Regions from separate parts of the Homo sapiens genome. Here region 1 is linked to region 2. The links are contacts of gene promoters, found by promoter capture Hi-C in blood cells and fetal thymus (Javierre and others, 2016). All regions are on one chromosome and are shown on one strand. Each heading gives the region's core, a stretch centred on a gene start or on the middle of the fragment in contact. The rest is flanking DNA. Distances are from core to core; before and after follow the strand shown.

Region 1 (7,235 bases), core at 4,054-6,553, 410 kb before region 2:
TTAATTCCAAGTTCTCCCTGGATTGCTATATTTAATTATCTGAGAACCAGCTGACTGGTTACCATGAAGGGTTTAACTTCAGACAACTGTGCCCAGGGCCCCGTGCAGGACTCAGCAAGGCTGCACCTTGCAAGCGGGTGGCAAGTTTCCTCCATTACAGCAACGCAGTAGAAGGGGCTGATGCTTGCCGAGATACGTAACCGCCACCAGGTCCCTCTGCTGTGGGTCAGACAAGTGCAAGGGCTTGGTGGTCCCTCATGGGCTCACTGTAGGGCTTTGTTTCTAGGGGAATAGGTTACAACCCACAGTGGTTCTTACACACAGCCTGGGAGGCAGACCCCACTGTGTGGTGAATCGGTACCCAGCTGGCAGCCAGCCATGGGCACCCCTCCCCTGCTCTGACACAAGCCTTTGAGGGCTCCCTCATTTTCAGTCTTTTTCAGACGGAAGCCCCCCGATATGGTTTGAACATTTGTCCCCTCCAAGTGTCATGATGAGATGTGATCCCCAGTGTTGGAGGTGGGGCCTGGTGGGAGGTGTTTGGATCATGGGGTGGATCCCTCATAAATGGCCTCACACCATCCCCTTGGTGATGAGTGAGTTCATGTGAGAGCTGCTTGTTTAAAGGTGTGTGGCAACTCCTGACTTTTTTTTTTCTTTTGAGATGGAGTCTTGCTCTGTCGCTCATGCTGGAGTGCATGGTGCGATCATAGCTCACTGCAACCTCCGCCTCCTTGGTTCAAGCGATTCTCCTGCCTCAGCCTCCTGTAAGACTGGGATTACAGGCACACACTACCACGTCCAACTAATTTTTGCATTTTTTTTTTTTTTTTTTTTTAGTAGAGAAGGGGTTTTGCCATGTTGGCCAGGCTGGTCTTGAACTCCTGGCCTCAGGTGATCCGCCCACCTTGGCCTCCCAAAGTGCTGGGATTACAGGCGTGAGCCACCGTGCCCGGCCTCCTTCCCTCTCTTGCTCCTGCTATTGCCATGTGATGTGCTGCCCTTGCTTCACCTGCCATCAGGAGTGAAGACGCTGGGCAGATGCTGGCGCCATGTTTCCTATGAAGCCTACAGAACTGTGAGCCAATTCAACCTCTTTTCTTTATAAATCACCCAACCTCAGGTATTTCTTTTTAGCACTGTGAAAGCAGGCTAACGCCTGGTACTTCCCTCACAGCTCACCCCATCGTCACCCCTCACAGCCCACCCCATCGTCACCCCTCACAGCCCACCCCATCGTCACCCCTCACAGCCCACCCCATCGTCACCCCTCACAGCCCACCCCATCGTCACCCCTCACAGCCCACCCCATCGTCACCCCTCACAGCCCACCCCATCGTCACCCCTCACAGCCCACCCCATGGTCACCCCTCACAGCCCACCCCATCGTCACCCCTCACAGCCCACCCCATCGTCACCCCTCACAGCCCACCCCATCGTCACCCCTCACAGCCCACCCCATCGTCACACCCTCACAGCCCACCCCATCGTCACACCCTCACAGCCCACCCCATCGTCACCCCTCACAGCCCACCCCATCGTCACCCCTCACAGCCCACCCCATCGTCACCCCTCACAGCCCACCCCATCGTCACCCCTCACAGCCCACCCCATCGTCACACCCTCACAGCCCACCCCATCGTCACCCCTCACAGCCCACCCCATCGTCACCCCTCACAGCCCACCCCATCGTCACCCCTCACAGCTCACCCCATCGTCACACCCTCACAGGTCCCTTCAAACTCCTCAATGTTGCTCCCACCCTGAATAAGACAGGTTGCCCTGCCCTGTTCTGGGTCCTGAGTTCATGATCTCCCAACATAGGGCAATATTCAGCCAGAAAAGAGGAGACCAGAGCAAACAGCTCCTCCTTTAACAGCTCATGTCCAACAACAGAAGGGTCCAGGGCCATCAAATAAGAATGGTGACTCTGTGGAGGGACACATGGGAGGAAGCACAAGAGGAGGATATGGAGGGTGAAAATAGATGTGCGTGGACTGTGCAGAGAACAGCTTTAGAATGAGGAAATTGTCAGGATCTTTTTAATTTCTCTAAGTATCTAACTAAAAAAAATATTTTAGGCCAGGTGTGGTGGCTCACACCCGTAATCCCAGCACTTTGGGAGGCTGAGGTGGGTGGATCACTTGAGGCCAGGAGTTCGAGACCAGCCTGGCCAACGTGGTGAAACCCGGTCTCTATTAAAAATACAAACAATTAGTGGGGAGTGGTGGCGGGTGCCTGTAGTCCCAGCTACTCGGCAGGTTGAGGCAGGAGAATGGTGTGAATCTGGGAGGCGGAGCTTGCAATGAGCCGAGATCGCCCACTGCGCTCCAGCCTGGGCGACAGGCGAGACTCCATCTCAAAAAAAACGAAAACAAAAACAAAAATTAGCTGGGCATTGTGGTGCACGCCTGTAGTCCCAGCTACTCGGGAGGCTGAGGCATGAGAGTTGCTTGAATCCCAGAGGCAGAGGTTGCAGTGAGCTGAGGTCACACCAGTGCACTCCAGCCTGGGCGACAGAGTGAGAGTGTGTCTCCAAAAAAATTTTTTTTTAACCCAAAACATGGTTTCTCTGATTATCGACAGTGCAAAGGATGCATGCTGAGCGCGACATGGGCAGGGACGTCCCGCGTAGTCCACCAATGGGGTGTGAGCACCTTGCTATTCTGCTTCCCATCTTATCCCGCTGCTGCACGGTGTCTGCCCACAGCAGGGACCCAACAAATATGCATCCAGTGAACAAAGGGACGAAGGCCCCTCAGCAGCTCTGTAAATGGGCTCCTGTCCACAGTGGGGTGATGCAACATGCCCTCCCCGGCCCCTGGGGAAGATGCTGCCAGACTCTGCCCTCCAGGCACTCCTTTGCTGGACACAGCTGCCTGCCGTTCCCCGCCAGGAGGACCGTACCTTCGACACACTTTGTGGGGCAAGCCCGGCATCTCTTCTGGGTAGAAGCCCTCACCACAGGCTGGCACACACTTCCAGTCGTGGAAGTGGAAGTTTTTCGCACAGTGAATGCACTCTTCTCTGCCTGGCCCTGAGAGACACAGGAAAAGAAGCAGGTATCAGGGATGGCTGGCAGAAGACCATGCCCCAGGCCTGCTTCAGGGCCTTGTGAGATCAGGGGTACCATTCAGGAGCCCCCAGGCCACCACCACAGCTGCCATTTCCCAGGTTCTGTGAGCTGGGCCGTCCTCACCCACTCCCAGGAGGTGGGCATCGCCATCACCATTTCACAGACGGGGACATCGAGGCATGAGATGATCTCAGAGGGAGCACACCTGCCCACTGGCCGTGCCACGATGATGGGCCCTGTTTCCAACAGGCCTAGGCCCACCTCTGCTCCCTGAACACTTGGAAATCCAGTGCCAAAGTCTTCATATAAAAAATATAAAACAGCTCATTTATTTTTTGTATGGATACATGTTGAAATGGCAATATTTTAGACACATTAGGTTGAATAGGATATGTTACTAAAATTATTTTTGCCTGTTTCATTTGACTGTTTAAGATATGGTTACTAGGCAACTTCAAATTGCACCCGTGGCTTGCGTTTGTGGCCCTTCCATTGCACAGAACGCTGTAGAAGATGACGGGGGAAGATGAAAGAAGAGATCTTTGGGAATGGTGTTGACAGGTGTTTGGTGTGTACAGCCAGGGCGTTTTCAACAACAGAGAAACAAATGCCTAAGACTAAGGGTTTATAGGGCAGGGAGGAGAGACTCGAAGACACAACAGTTCTGAGCAAAGGGCCACGAGTCATGGAGGAAAACCTTCAGGTTGGCTCAGGGTCCGAGGAGGACCTGTCGACCTGGGTCAGATGTTGGACTAGTTGACTAGATAGCACCTCCTCTGGGCCAGGTGTCTCCAGGGAGCAACTGATGGGACGTCAGAGAGGGGCAGTGAAGTAGTCACTGACTGACAGCGGAGAGGGTTACAGGCAGGGAGGAGATTATCTCAGGGGCTCTATGATAATCACAATGCCCAGGTAAACCTCCTCACAGCTGCTTCAGTTCGATTGTGGTCGCAGATCGAGGCCTTGCAGTCTGCTCTGGACTCAGATGGGGCCTCTCGCTGCATCAAGGGAAAATCCCTTTGCAGAGGTTCCGGAGCCTGGAGGGCTCAAGCACAAGGCCCTGGGCTCTGGGGCTGGCTTCACACCTCAGAACCACAGCCGTAAGCCTGGGAGGGAATTCTGAGCTCCTGCAGGAGAAGCTCCTCCTTGGAGAGTCAGGAAGAGTGAAGCCGAGAAGGCCACAGGGTTTTGAGCAGGAGGCAGATGTAGGGACCTCAAGGGGCCTCTTGAGGACCACCGTCTTCATGGCAGGTGTCTCCCTCTCTTCCTGAGGTGCGGTGGAAGAGCTGTGCCCCGGGGGCGGGACTCTGTCTGGTTTATGTTGTTCTGGAGCAGAGGCTGCTCGTATGCTTTGGCCAATGCCGCCCCTCCCCATCACTGGTCTCTGGGAGCATCTGGTGGGTGGGTCTCATACACCAGGCGGGGTGCCACTCTGAGTGGGGTTTGGGAGCTGTTCAGGGCCTGCCGTTGTACCTCTCACGCCTCACCTGCTGAACCCGTCTTCCCCACTATCCTTCCTCCAGCACCAGGGTCCTTAACACCTGTGGAGCCTCCCAAGTGGGAAAGAAAGCTCATTCTTGTTTGTACTTAAGTTTCATGCTCAATGTATTAAGCTTCAAAGTTGTTAAAACACATTTATTTGGAGGTGGTGGCGATGGTGGCACACAAATGTAAATTCACTTAATGCCACCGAACTGTATGCCTAAAAATAGTCAAGATGGTACATTTTATGTGATGTGTATTTTACCGCAATAAAAAAGCTGTTAAAGTGGGTTGATTTTCTAAGCGACCTATTTTCTCAACTACTAAAAAATATGAATTTCATAACTCAGTGAAAGTCTTTTAAGGATTCCATTAAGTCGCAAGTCTCTATAGACTTTGAACACTTTAAAAGCACCCACAATCATAGCAATAAGAGCAGAACGGGCTGTGCTTATACAGGACCTGCTATGTTGTTTGCGGGGCCCAGTATAAAGTGAAAACATGGAGCCTTTGTTCAGAAAGCTGGAAGAATGTGCCACGACAGGGACTAAAACAGAAAGCGTTTTCCTTTCTTTTGAATCTCTCTTGGTCTGTTGTGGTGTTTCTCATTTGCTGTTTCAAGTAGTGCCGTCTCAGGCACAGGACGCTCATGCTTGAGGGCTGACCGTCACAGGTGCTTGGGGCACTGCCCCGCAACTTGGTATGTGTGTGCCCTGCAGGCTGTCAGCTGCTAATCCACATGCCATGCCCCAGGTGGGTAAGTCGCGTCCCACGGGGCCACTGCATTAACCCAGCTGTGCCAGCAGCCCCGAAGGATTACAACCTCCATGCCAGGACACACGGGGCACCTGGACTCAGGAGGATGAGAGGCTCATCTCGATCGAGTTGCCTGCCAAGTGCACTGGGGCACTGTGAGCCAAGGGTGGGGACAGATTCCGCCATGCCCTACCCCAAGCACTCATGCCTGACTCCGACCCTCCCCACGACTGTGCCCAGGCCCCTGGGTGGGTGGTGGACAGCAGTGGTCACTGAATGGGAACAGGGAGGGGAATGCCAGGTGGGCCTGGGTCTCCAGGGCACAGGAAGTAGGCAGCTGAGAACAGCTGCCTCCAATGAGGTCCACACCTGACATGGAACAAGAAGCCTCCAGTGACTCAGAGGAGGAAAATGAGGTCTCTCTCCCAAGAGGCTGCCAGGGGATAGATGTACACGTTCCCAGGAGCTTAGAAAGAACCCCAGGCCAGAGGGCATGGGGCGCAGGGGAGACCCCCAGAGCTGTGGACCTGCTCACCAATGAATTTAATAGCTGAAGTGATGGAGAAGTCACTGGTTTGAGATGAGAATTCCAAGGGACTCTATAAAGCTTTTTGCCATCAGGCAATCTGGGGACTCAAAGAAAGAAAAGTGAATTATTGAAATCAAAGAGTTGCAAAACTGTATGCCTGAATGTTATGGATTCAAGTGACTACGAAATTTAAATAAGCAACATCAGTGATGCTGCCTAATCCATCTGGGCTAAATAAGTCAAAGAAATAATAAAAATAATAGACAAAAAGGCGACAGGCAAACTGCTGGGGAAATCTGCTGAGCTGCCAGCGGGTGGAACCCATCCAGATGCTGAGCACTGTGGCCTTGAGGGCTGCCCCAGGAGGGAACTGAGGAGGACATGTCTCCCCTGGGTGGTCTGAGGTCAGCCTGGCAATCATAGGAGGACACTGGCCTTGGCCACAGCCTTGTTCATCAGGCCTGTCTATTCCAGGACATACGGCAGGGAGCTGCATGGGGTGCTCATGGCCGGCCACGTGGGGAGGGGTGTGCCCATTCTGCAGGATTTCTGAGGCACAGTAGTATCATGGAAACTGGTTTAGCAGAGACTTAATTCTGTTTTTTTTTTTTTTTTTTTGACAGAGTCTTACTCTGTCGCCCAGGCTGAAGTATGTAGGGGTGTGATCTCAGCTCCTTGCAACCTCCACCTCCCGGTTTCAAGCAATTTTCATGTCTCAACCTCCCCAGTAGCTGGGATTACAGGCGCCTGCCACCAAACCTGGCTAATTTTTGTATTTTTAGTAGAGATGGGGTTTCACCATGTTGGCCAGGCTGGTCTTGAACTCCTGACCTCAGGTGATCCACCCGCCTTGGCCTCCCAAAGTGCCGGGATTACAGGCATGAACCACTGTGCCCGGCCAGTAGAGACTTAATTCTTAAAGTATTACTGCAGAAAAAGCTCATATGATGTGAGTTTCTTAGAAAGGACCAAAGTACCAAGGACAGGAAGGAGAGAGGAGAAAACTTAACCCAAAACATATCCGAGCCCACAGACTGATGGTGCACTTCAACTTACTGTGCAAATAGCTCTGCAAAACAAAATCCAATAAAATGAATGAATTCTCTGCTATTCTGCATAAAAACTGTGCCTGGGAGACATCTGTGCCATCATCTTTGTGGGCAATTATAATACATGTAAAATTGTTTATAGAATTCTTTTCCTCTTTGAAAAAATGTTCAAAATAAGTGAAGATAGGCACAAAGAACTAAGGCTATGTTTGAAAACATCCCCATCCCCACCTGGATCCATTCCCGCCTCTCCCAAAGCCCTCTCAATGTTTATGGTGTTGTGTTTCTGTCCGCGCCGTTCCACAGCAAGAGCTGAGCTCTGAGACAAGATGGCTTATGAGTG
Region 2 (6,519 bases), core at 285-2,784:
TCATATTTAAGGCTTGAAAAGTTTTAAATACACTAATGTGACCCAAATAATAATTTAATCAGTAATTTTTATTGGAAATCCTAGGTAATTAACTATATACACATATTTAAAATTACAGGTAGTATTTTATATTGTTTCCACAGCAACAACTTACCTCGCTGTCAGCCTCGCTTTCCTTCATTTTCTTCTTTTTCATGTCCTTGTCTTGGCTTTGACTAGGAGGAGGCTGAAAGATAAATTATAAATGACTCACATCAATGGCAAGAAAAAGCAACACATTTTAAGAAGAGAGTCATGCCAGCAGGCTGCAAGTGCCCCGTGTTTAGAGGCTCATAGCTGGGCTCTCCTGACCACCAGCTACAGCTCTCAGTGGGCAAGTCATTCTCCAGGGTTCAGTCCTTCCTGTCACACTGTTGCTAAGCACATTTAATATATTGTGCTCTTGAAAACCTTTTGTCCTGAACTTTAAACAAATAATGTGGCTGGAAAATGTGTGGTTGCTGCCCGCCACATCAAATGCACTATTTCCTGAAGATGTTGCTAGTTCACCGCAGCTGTCCTTCCTAAAGGACTGCAGAACATCTCAGCCTGAGAAGCTTCAGGACTCAGAAAGTATGATGTTAAAAGAAGATAATTTATCCTTTCTACAAATCATAAAATACTGTATTAAATAAAAATGTTAAATATACAGCTATCCTCTCAAGATGAACCACCAAAACAAGAGCACAAAAAGCGAAAACTTCTCGTCCAAAAAAAACCCAACAACAAAAAAGAACCAGAGGGAATGAGAGTTTACATACGCAGCTGTTAGTCTTTCTGACCAAGGAAAGAATGAGTTTTAAACACTCCAGCATTTTTTCAAACAAATGAAAACACTATTTCTGCTACTGAAAAAGATGCGTGGCAGGCTCTTTAATGGACGAATTGAGAAATCAACAGCATTTGGTTAAGTCTGGCGACTGCTGGAAATCCGGCGGCTCCCCAGGCCACACGGGACCACCGAGCAGGGCAGGGCGGGCCAGCCGCAGGGCACTGGGAGGGCACTCCCCCGGGGCGCCCCCGCACCTGCCCCCGCAGTTGAAAACCTTTCGGTGCGCACCGTCTCGGCCCGCCCCGCCCGCGTCCTCTCCAGTGTCCCCACCGCCCGGTTACCTGTGCGCCGGCCTCCTGCGCCGCCTCTAGCTCCGCGCTCTCCAGCGTGGCCTGGCGGCTCCGCTCCTCGGCGAGGCACAGCCGCAGGCTGCACAGGCGGTGGCGCAGGTCGCAGTTCTCGGCCCGGAGCTGCGCCACCTCCCGCGTGAGGCACGGCCCCTCCGCCTGGCAGCTGTAGGGCGCGTTCAGCTGCTCGTCCCTCAGGCGCTCGACCTCCGACCACAGCCAGCGGATGTCCTCCTCCTGCCGCTCCAGGCGCGACGCCACGGCCTCCGCCGCCAGGGCCTCGGCCGCCATCGCGGCCTCCCTCAGGCACCGACGCCGAGCGGGGTGCCCGCGACTGCGGCGAGGGCGACGCGGACACTCAGCGCACGGCAGAAGACAGGGCTCCCGGGAGGGGCGGGGCGATGGGGCGGGGACGGAGCCATGGGGCCTCGTTGGAGCCGAGGCCTACACGTTGCAGGGGCGGGGCGCTGGGCGGGGAGGGGCGGGGCCTAGGCCAGATACCCTGCAGGGGCGGGGCGGGGCGGGGCGGGGCCTGAGGCCAGATACCCTGCAGGGGCGGGGCGGGGCGGGGCCTGAGGCCAGGCCCACCTTAGGGTCACGGGCAGTGGGGAAATGGGGTCTGAAGGGCCTCCCCTGCCTTTCGAGGCCTGTCTAGAGGCTATTGGCAGTAGTTTTTAGTCCGTTGAAACGAAAATCTTCCAAAACCTTGCAAAAAGGCCATCGTCTGCGTTCTCCAAAAAGGCTTCACCCTTTCTTCCTCTTGAATTCTGGCAGTCACCATTCTTTTGCCTTGCAAACAGGTTCTAAAAAGTGGCCATTCATTATAAATGGACTTTCTGGCCTTTCGTGCCAAACTTGCCCAAGTACTGAGGCCTCTGGGCCAGGGCATATAGAAAATCGCTGTGAAATCTAAATCCGACCAGCACGAAATTACTGGCTCCTTGAGTCTAGGGCAAATGCCACATATATCTTTGTATCCCTCTTAACCATGAGCGTGAAACTTCCTGGAGCAGGAACAGAAATTGATTTTTATCACTATTCTTAGGGCTTAGGATGTGACAAACACTGTTCTAAACTCTGTAACAGTAGTAACTCCTTTAATCTTCATAACAGGAGATACTGTTATATCCGCTTATAGCTGGAGAAATTGAAGCACAGTGAGACTGTGTTACTTGACTAAGGTCACACAGCCACTACATGACAAAGGGGGAATCAAACTCAGATAGTCTGATGCCAGTTTCTACACACTTAACACTAGTACTTTTCAACTTTGGCAGAATTTAATTGAGCATGTCATATAATGTGATACAGGTAATAATGCCCTTATAAGAGTCCTGAAGTGGAAGAGCTTAGCTTGGACTGGTGTGGTTTGAGAAAGGGAGAAAATTTTGAGAAAGGGGAAAAGGTTTATTTTGCTCTGGAAAATAAAGGTTGGGAGATGTTAGCAAGGAGGAAAAGCAGGTAAATTCCACTCCAGGAGCAGAATCAGTGCAGGAGAAGGAGCGGAGGGGGACAAGCTCATTGGATTAAGCTAAGTGGAATCCCAAACAGCACCCAGGAGGAGATTCCATGAAGTATGTTGCTAACCAATATCACTGTATCTTTTTTAGTCCTTCCTCAGGAAGCCTCTGGATACAGTTACATAGGACCCACTGACTCCTCATTATTCATCATTTCTCAATCCACTGCCATGGAGTTTCTGCTTCTGCCATTCTGTCATGACCAACACATCACTGAATGTCATGGACCCACTTAAGCCACCCCAGAATTTCCTCGGGACCCTCTGGAATTTGTCTCTCTTGGGTCTCCATTCCCAATACCTAGGCAACCACCAGTCTGCTTCCTGTCACTATAGGTTAGTTTGCATTTTCTTGATTTTTCTACACATGGAACCACACCGTATGTCCTCCTTTTGTTTAGCTACTTTCAGTCGGCACAATAATTTTGATATTTACCTATGTTTGTGTGTATCTATTGTTCTTTTTTTCTGAGTAGTATTCCATTGTATGGATATACCATAATTTGTTTATTCATTTGTTGATGGAAAATTTGGGTTATTTCCAGGTTTTAGCTAGGATCACACAATACCCAGTGAGCCCATTGGGTTTCCAAACTCACACTGTAGTTATTTCGTCAGTTCCAGAATGCAGAGTTTGAATAGATATACTCCAAACTGGCAGAATCCCTACAGTGTTTCCCTGACCCTCGGACATAAGGCTATTATTCTGGTAGGAAAGGCCAAGCAGAAACCACTAGAACTTTATCAACATACAAAAATAATAAATCAAAAGTAATACTGCATTCCTGAAGGAATTGCACAGATTACTGTTGCCTTCAAGAACTTGAAAGATGCAGGGGTGGAGATTCTCATCACACCCCATTTACCTTACCTTACCATCCCATTTACATTTAGCCTATGTAGAAGACAAATGGATGTTAGAGAATTATAGTAGATTAATATAAATTTAATTAGATGGTGATTCCAGTTGCAGCTGCTCTTCCAGATATGATTTCATTGTTGGAGTAAATCAGCATAACCCCTAGCACCTGATATGCACCTATTGAGCTGGCTAATACTTCTTTCTTTATATCTATTAGTTAAGGGCTATCGAGCACCATTTTATTTCAGCTGACAAGGCTGGCAATACACCTTCACAGGGTATCACCACAAGACAATATAAACTCTTTAGTTTTATGTGATAATCTAGTCCACAAGGACTTTGATTGCTGCTGTATTCCATAGGATATCATGCTGGTGTCCTATCATTGATGATAGCATGCTGATTTTCCCTGATGAGCAGGAAATAGCAAATACTATAGTCACCTTGATAAGGCATGTGGAGGTGGTAGAGAAGGAAATATATCCCCAAATGTAAAAATTCAGAGGGCTGTCACCTCAGTGAAACTTCTAGGCATTAAGTAATTCAGAGCATTTAGAGATGCCACTTTGGAGGCAACATATACCTCATTTGGACATTATTTTTCTAAACCAATTACTATGTAACTCAAGACTGCCAGTGTTAAGTAAGACTGAGAACCTAACAAGATTCTGAAACAGGTAATGCTGCTATGCAAGCTACTTTTCTATGTGGGCCACATGAGCAACAGATCTGATGGTGCTTGAAATGTCTGTGGCAGATAAGAGTTACCCAACCTAGAGTGCAGTGGTAAGATCTTGGCTCATTGCAACCTCGACCTGCTGGGCTCAAGCAACCCTCCCACCTCAGCCTCCTGAGTAACTGGGACTACAGGTGCATACCACCATGCCCAGCTAATTAAAAAAATTTTTGTAGTGATGGGGTCTTGCTACATTGCCCAGGCTGGTCTTGAACTCCTGTCCTCAAGTGATCTTCCCACCTTTGCCTCCCAAAGTGTTGGGATTAACTATTCTGCTTTTGAGAAGCAGCTTCTGGTTTGCTACTGGGCCATAGTAGAGATTGAGTGCTTCATCAGGGACCATCAAATTACCATGCTACCCAAGTTTCCCTCCATGAATTGAATGTTATTTGACCCATCAAGCCTAAGGTTGGGTATATACAGCAGCATCCTATCATTAAATAAAAGAGGTGTATGCCAGATCAGGCTCAAACAGATTATGTACGAGTTTTTGGCATAAACAAGTCACCCAGATGATCACAACTCCTGTGGCCTCATGAAAAGTTTTATATGACCAGTTGACTGAGGAAGGTAAAATTTGGCCATGATTTACAGATGGTTCTGCACTCTTCTGGAGCAGAAGCTTCTTTAAGTTGACGCCTGAGAATTTAATTGCTTCCTTGATTTTTGGTTTGATAAAATGTTTCAGGCTCATCTTATATTCAAGGAATCTATCATTTCTCCAAGGTGGCCTAGTCCATTTTAATGGGAATTGTAATTTAAATCACACAATGTGGGTCCTGGCAGCAGTCTTTGTTTCTAGGACTTTTCTGTATTTAGGATTGCCAGATAAAATACACAGTGCACATTTACATTTGAACTTCAGATAAACAAAAAATAATGTTTATATAAATATGTCCCATGCAATATTTGAGACATATACTAAAAAATTATTCAAGCCAAAAAGCATTAAATAAGACAAAGAAGGACATTTTGTAATGTTAAGTGCCACATTCCACAATGAAAATATAGCAATTATGAATATCTATACACCTGTAATTTGAAAAAAACTACAGGAAACTAAAGGAGAAAGAGAAACACACTAATAAGAGGAAAATAACAAGGCTGGGTGTGGTGGCTCATGCCTGTAATCCCAGCACTTTGGGATGCCGAGGTGGGCAGATCACCTGAGGTCAGAAGTTCGAGACCAGCCTGACCAACATAGAGAAGTCCCATCTCTACTAAAAGTACAAAAAATTAGCTGGGTGTGGTGGCGCATGCCTGTAATCCCAGCTACTTGGGAGGCTGAGGCAGGAGAATTGCTGGAACCTAGGAGGTGGAGTTTGTGGTGAGCTGAGATCATGCCATCGCACTCCAGCTTGGGCAACAACAGCAAAACTCCATCTCAAAAAAAAAAAAAAAAAGGAAAATAACAAACCACTCTCTGAGTACATTCAAGTGCCCCCACAAAAAAGTAAGGATGTAAAAGACCCAAACAATATAATTAAAAAGTAGATATTTTGAATATATTCACATTATCAATATGTATATATAAATATCTATCTATATAAACTATACCCTGAAAATGGAAGATGCACCTTCCTCTTAAACAAATGTATAGATTCTTCATATAAATTAATCATTTGTAGAGCTCAAGAAAGACCTCAGTAGGTTTCATAAAGTAGAAATATTAGGTACAACACTCTCAGCCCCCAATGCAATAAAATTAGAAATTAAAAATAAAACAACAACAAAAAGCCTTTTCACATGGAAATTTTAAAACTCTTAAGCATCTCTTTATTGAAAGGAGAAATGAAAAAGGAAAGTACAGACTTTCTTTAAAATAGTGATAATGAAAATACTACAAATCTATGCAATACACAGATCAGTAATCAGAAAAAAATCATAACTCTAACACCTATATTGATAAAAACAAAAGAATGGAAATAAATTCTCAATTGAAAAATTGAGAAAAATGACAGCAAAATAAAGCAATGACAAAGTTCTAATAACACTAAATATACATTTCTTTTTCAACCCAGCAATCCCACTTCTAGAAATTTATTCTGAAGATACAAGAAGGCAAAAATGCATATGCACACAAATTCAACGGAAGAGTTGTGATTGTAAAGTACCTCATAGGAGATTGGTTCAATAAGCTATAGTACACACAAAAAATGGAGCACTATGAAGCTGTTAAAAAAATAATTAAGAGGATCTCTGAACTGATATGGAACGATTTCCAGGAGATTTTATGAAGCAAAA

Evidence for each region. The method cuts DNA at HindIII sites, captures the fragments that hold promoters and counts their contacts. A CHiCAGO score of 5 or more calls a contact.
Region 1: a fragment that was not itself captured here is called in contact with the fragment with the promoter of TARS3 in region 2 in 1 of 17 cell types (monocytes); the score reaches 6.3 in monocytes.

The regions. Positions count from the first base shown.
Region 1 is chr15:101,310,469-101,317,703 of GRCh38, forward strand. PCSK6 (proprotein convertase subtilisin/kexin type 6) reads right to left here. Exons shown (of 22, transcript NM_002570.5): 20 at 2,908-3,037. Among named protein-coding and RNA genes, the nearest start is that of SNRPA1-DT, 19 kb to the left of the region's middle. The HindIII fragment of the contact is 1,232 bases long and covers 4,688-5,919 here.
Region 2 is chr15:101,722,939-101,729,457 of GRCh38, forward strand. TARS3 (threonyl-tRNA synthetase 3) reads right to left here and starts at 1,535. Exons shown (of 19, transcript NM_152334.3): 1 at 1,153-1,535; 2 at 155-226. The coding sequence starts at 1,449. RefSeq lists a silencer at 931-1,820. The HindIII fragment of the contact is 4,301 bases long and covers 595-4,895 here.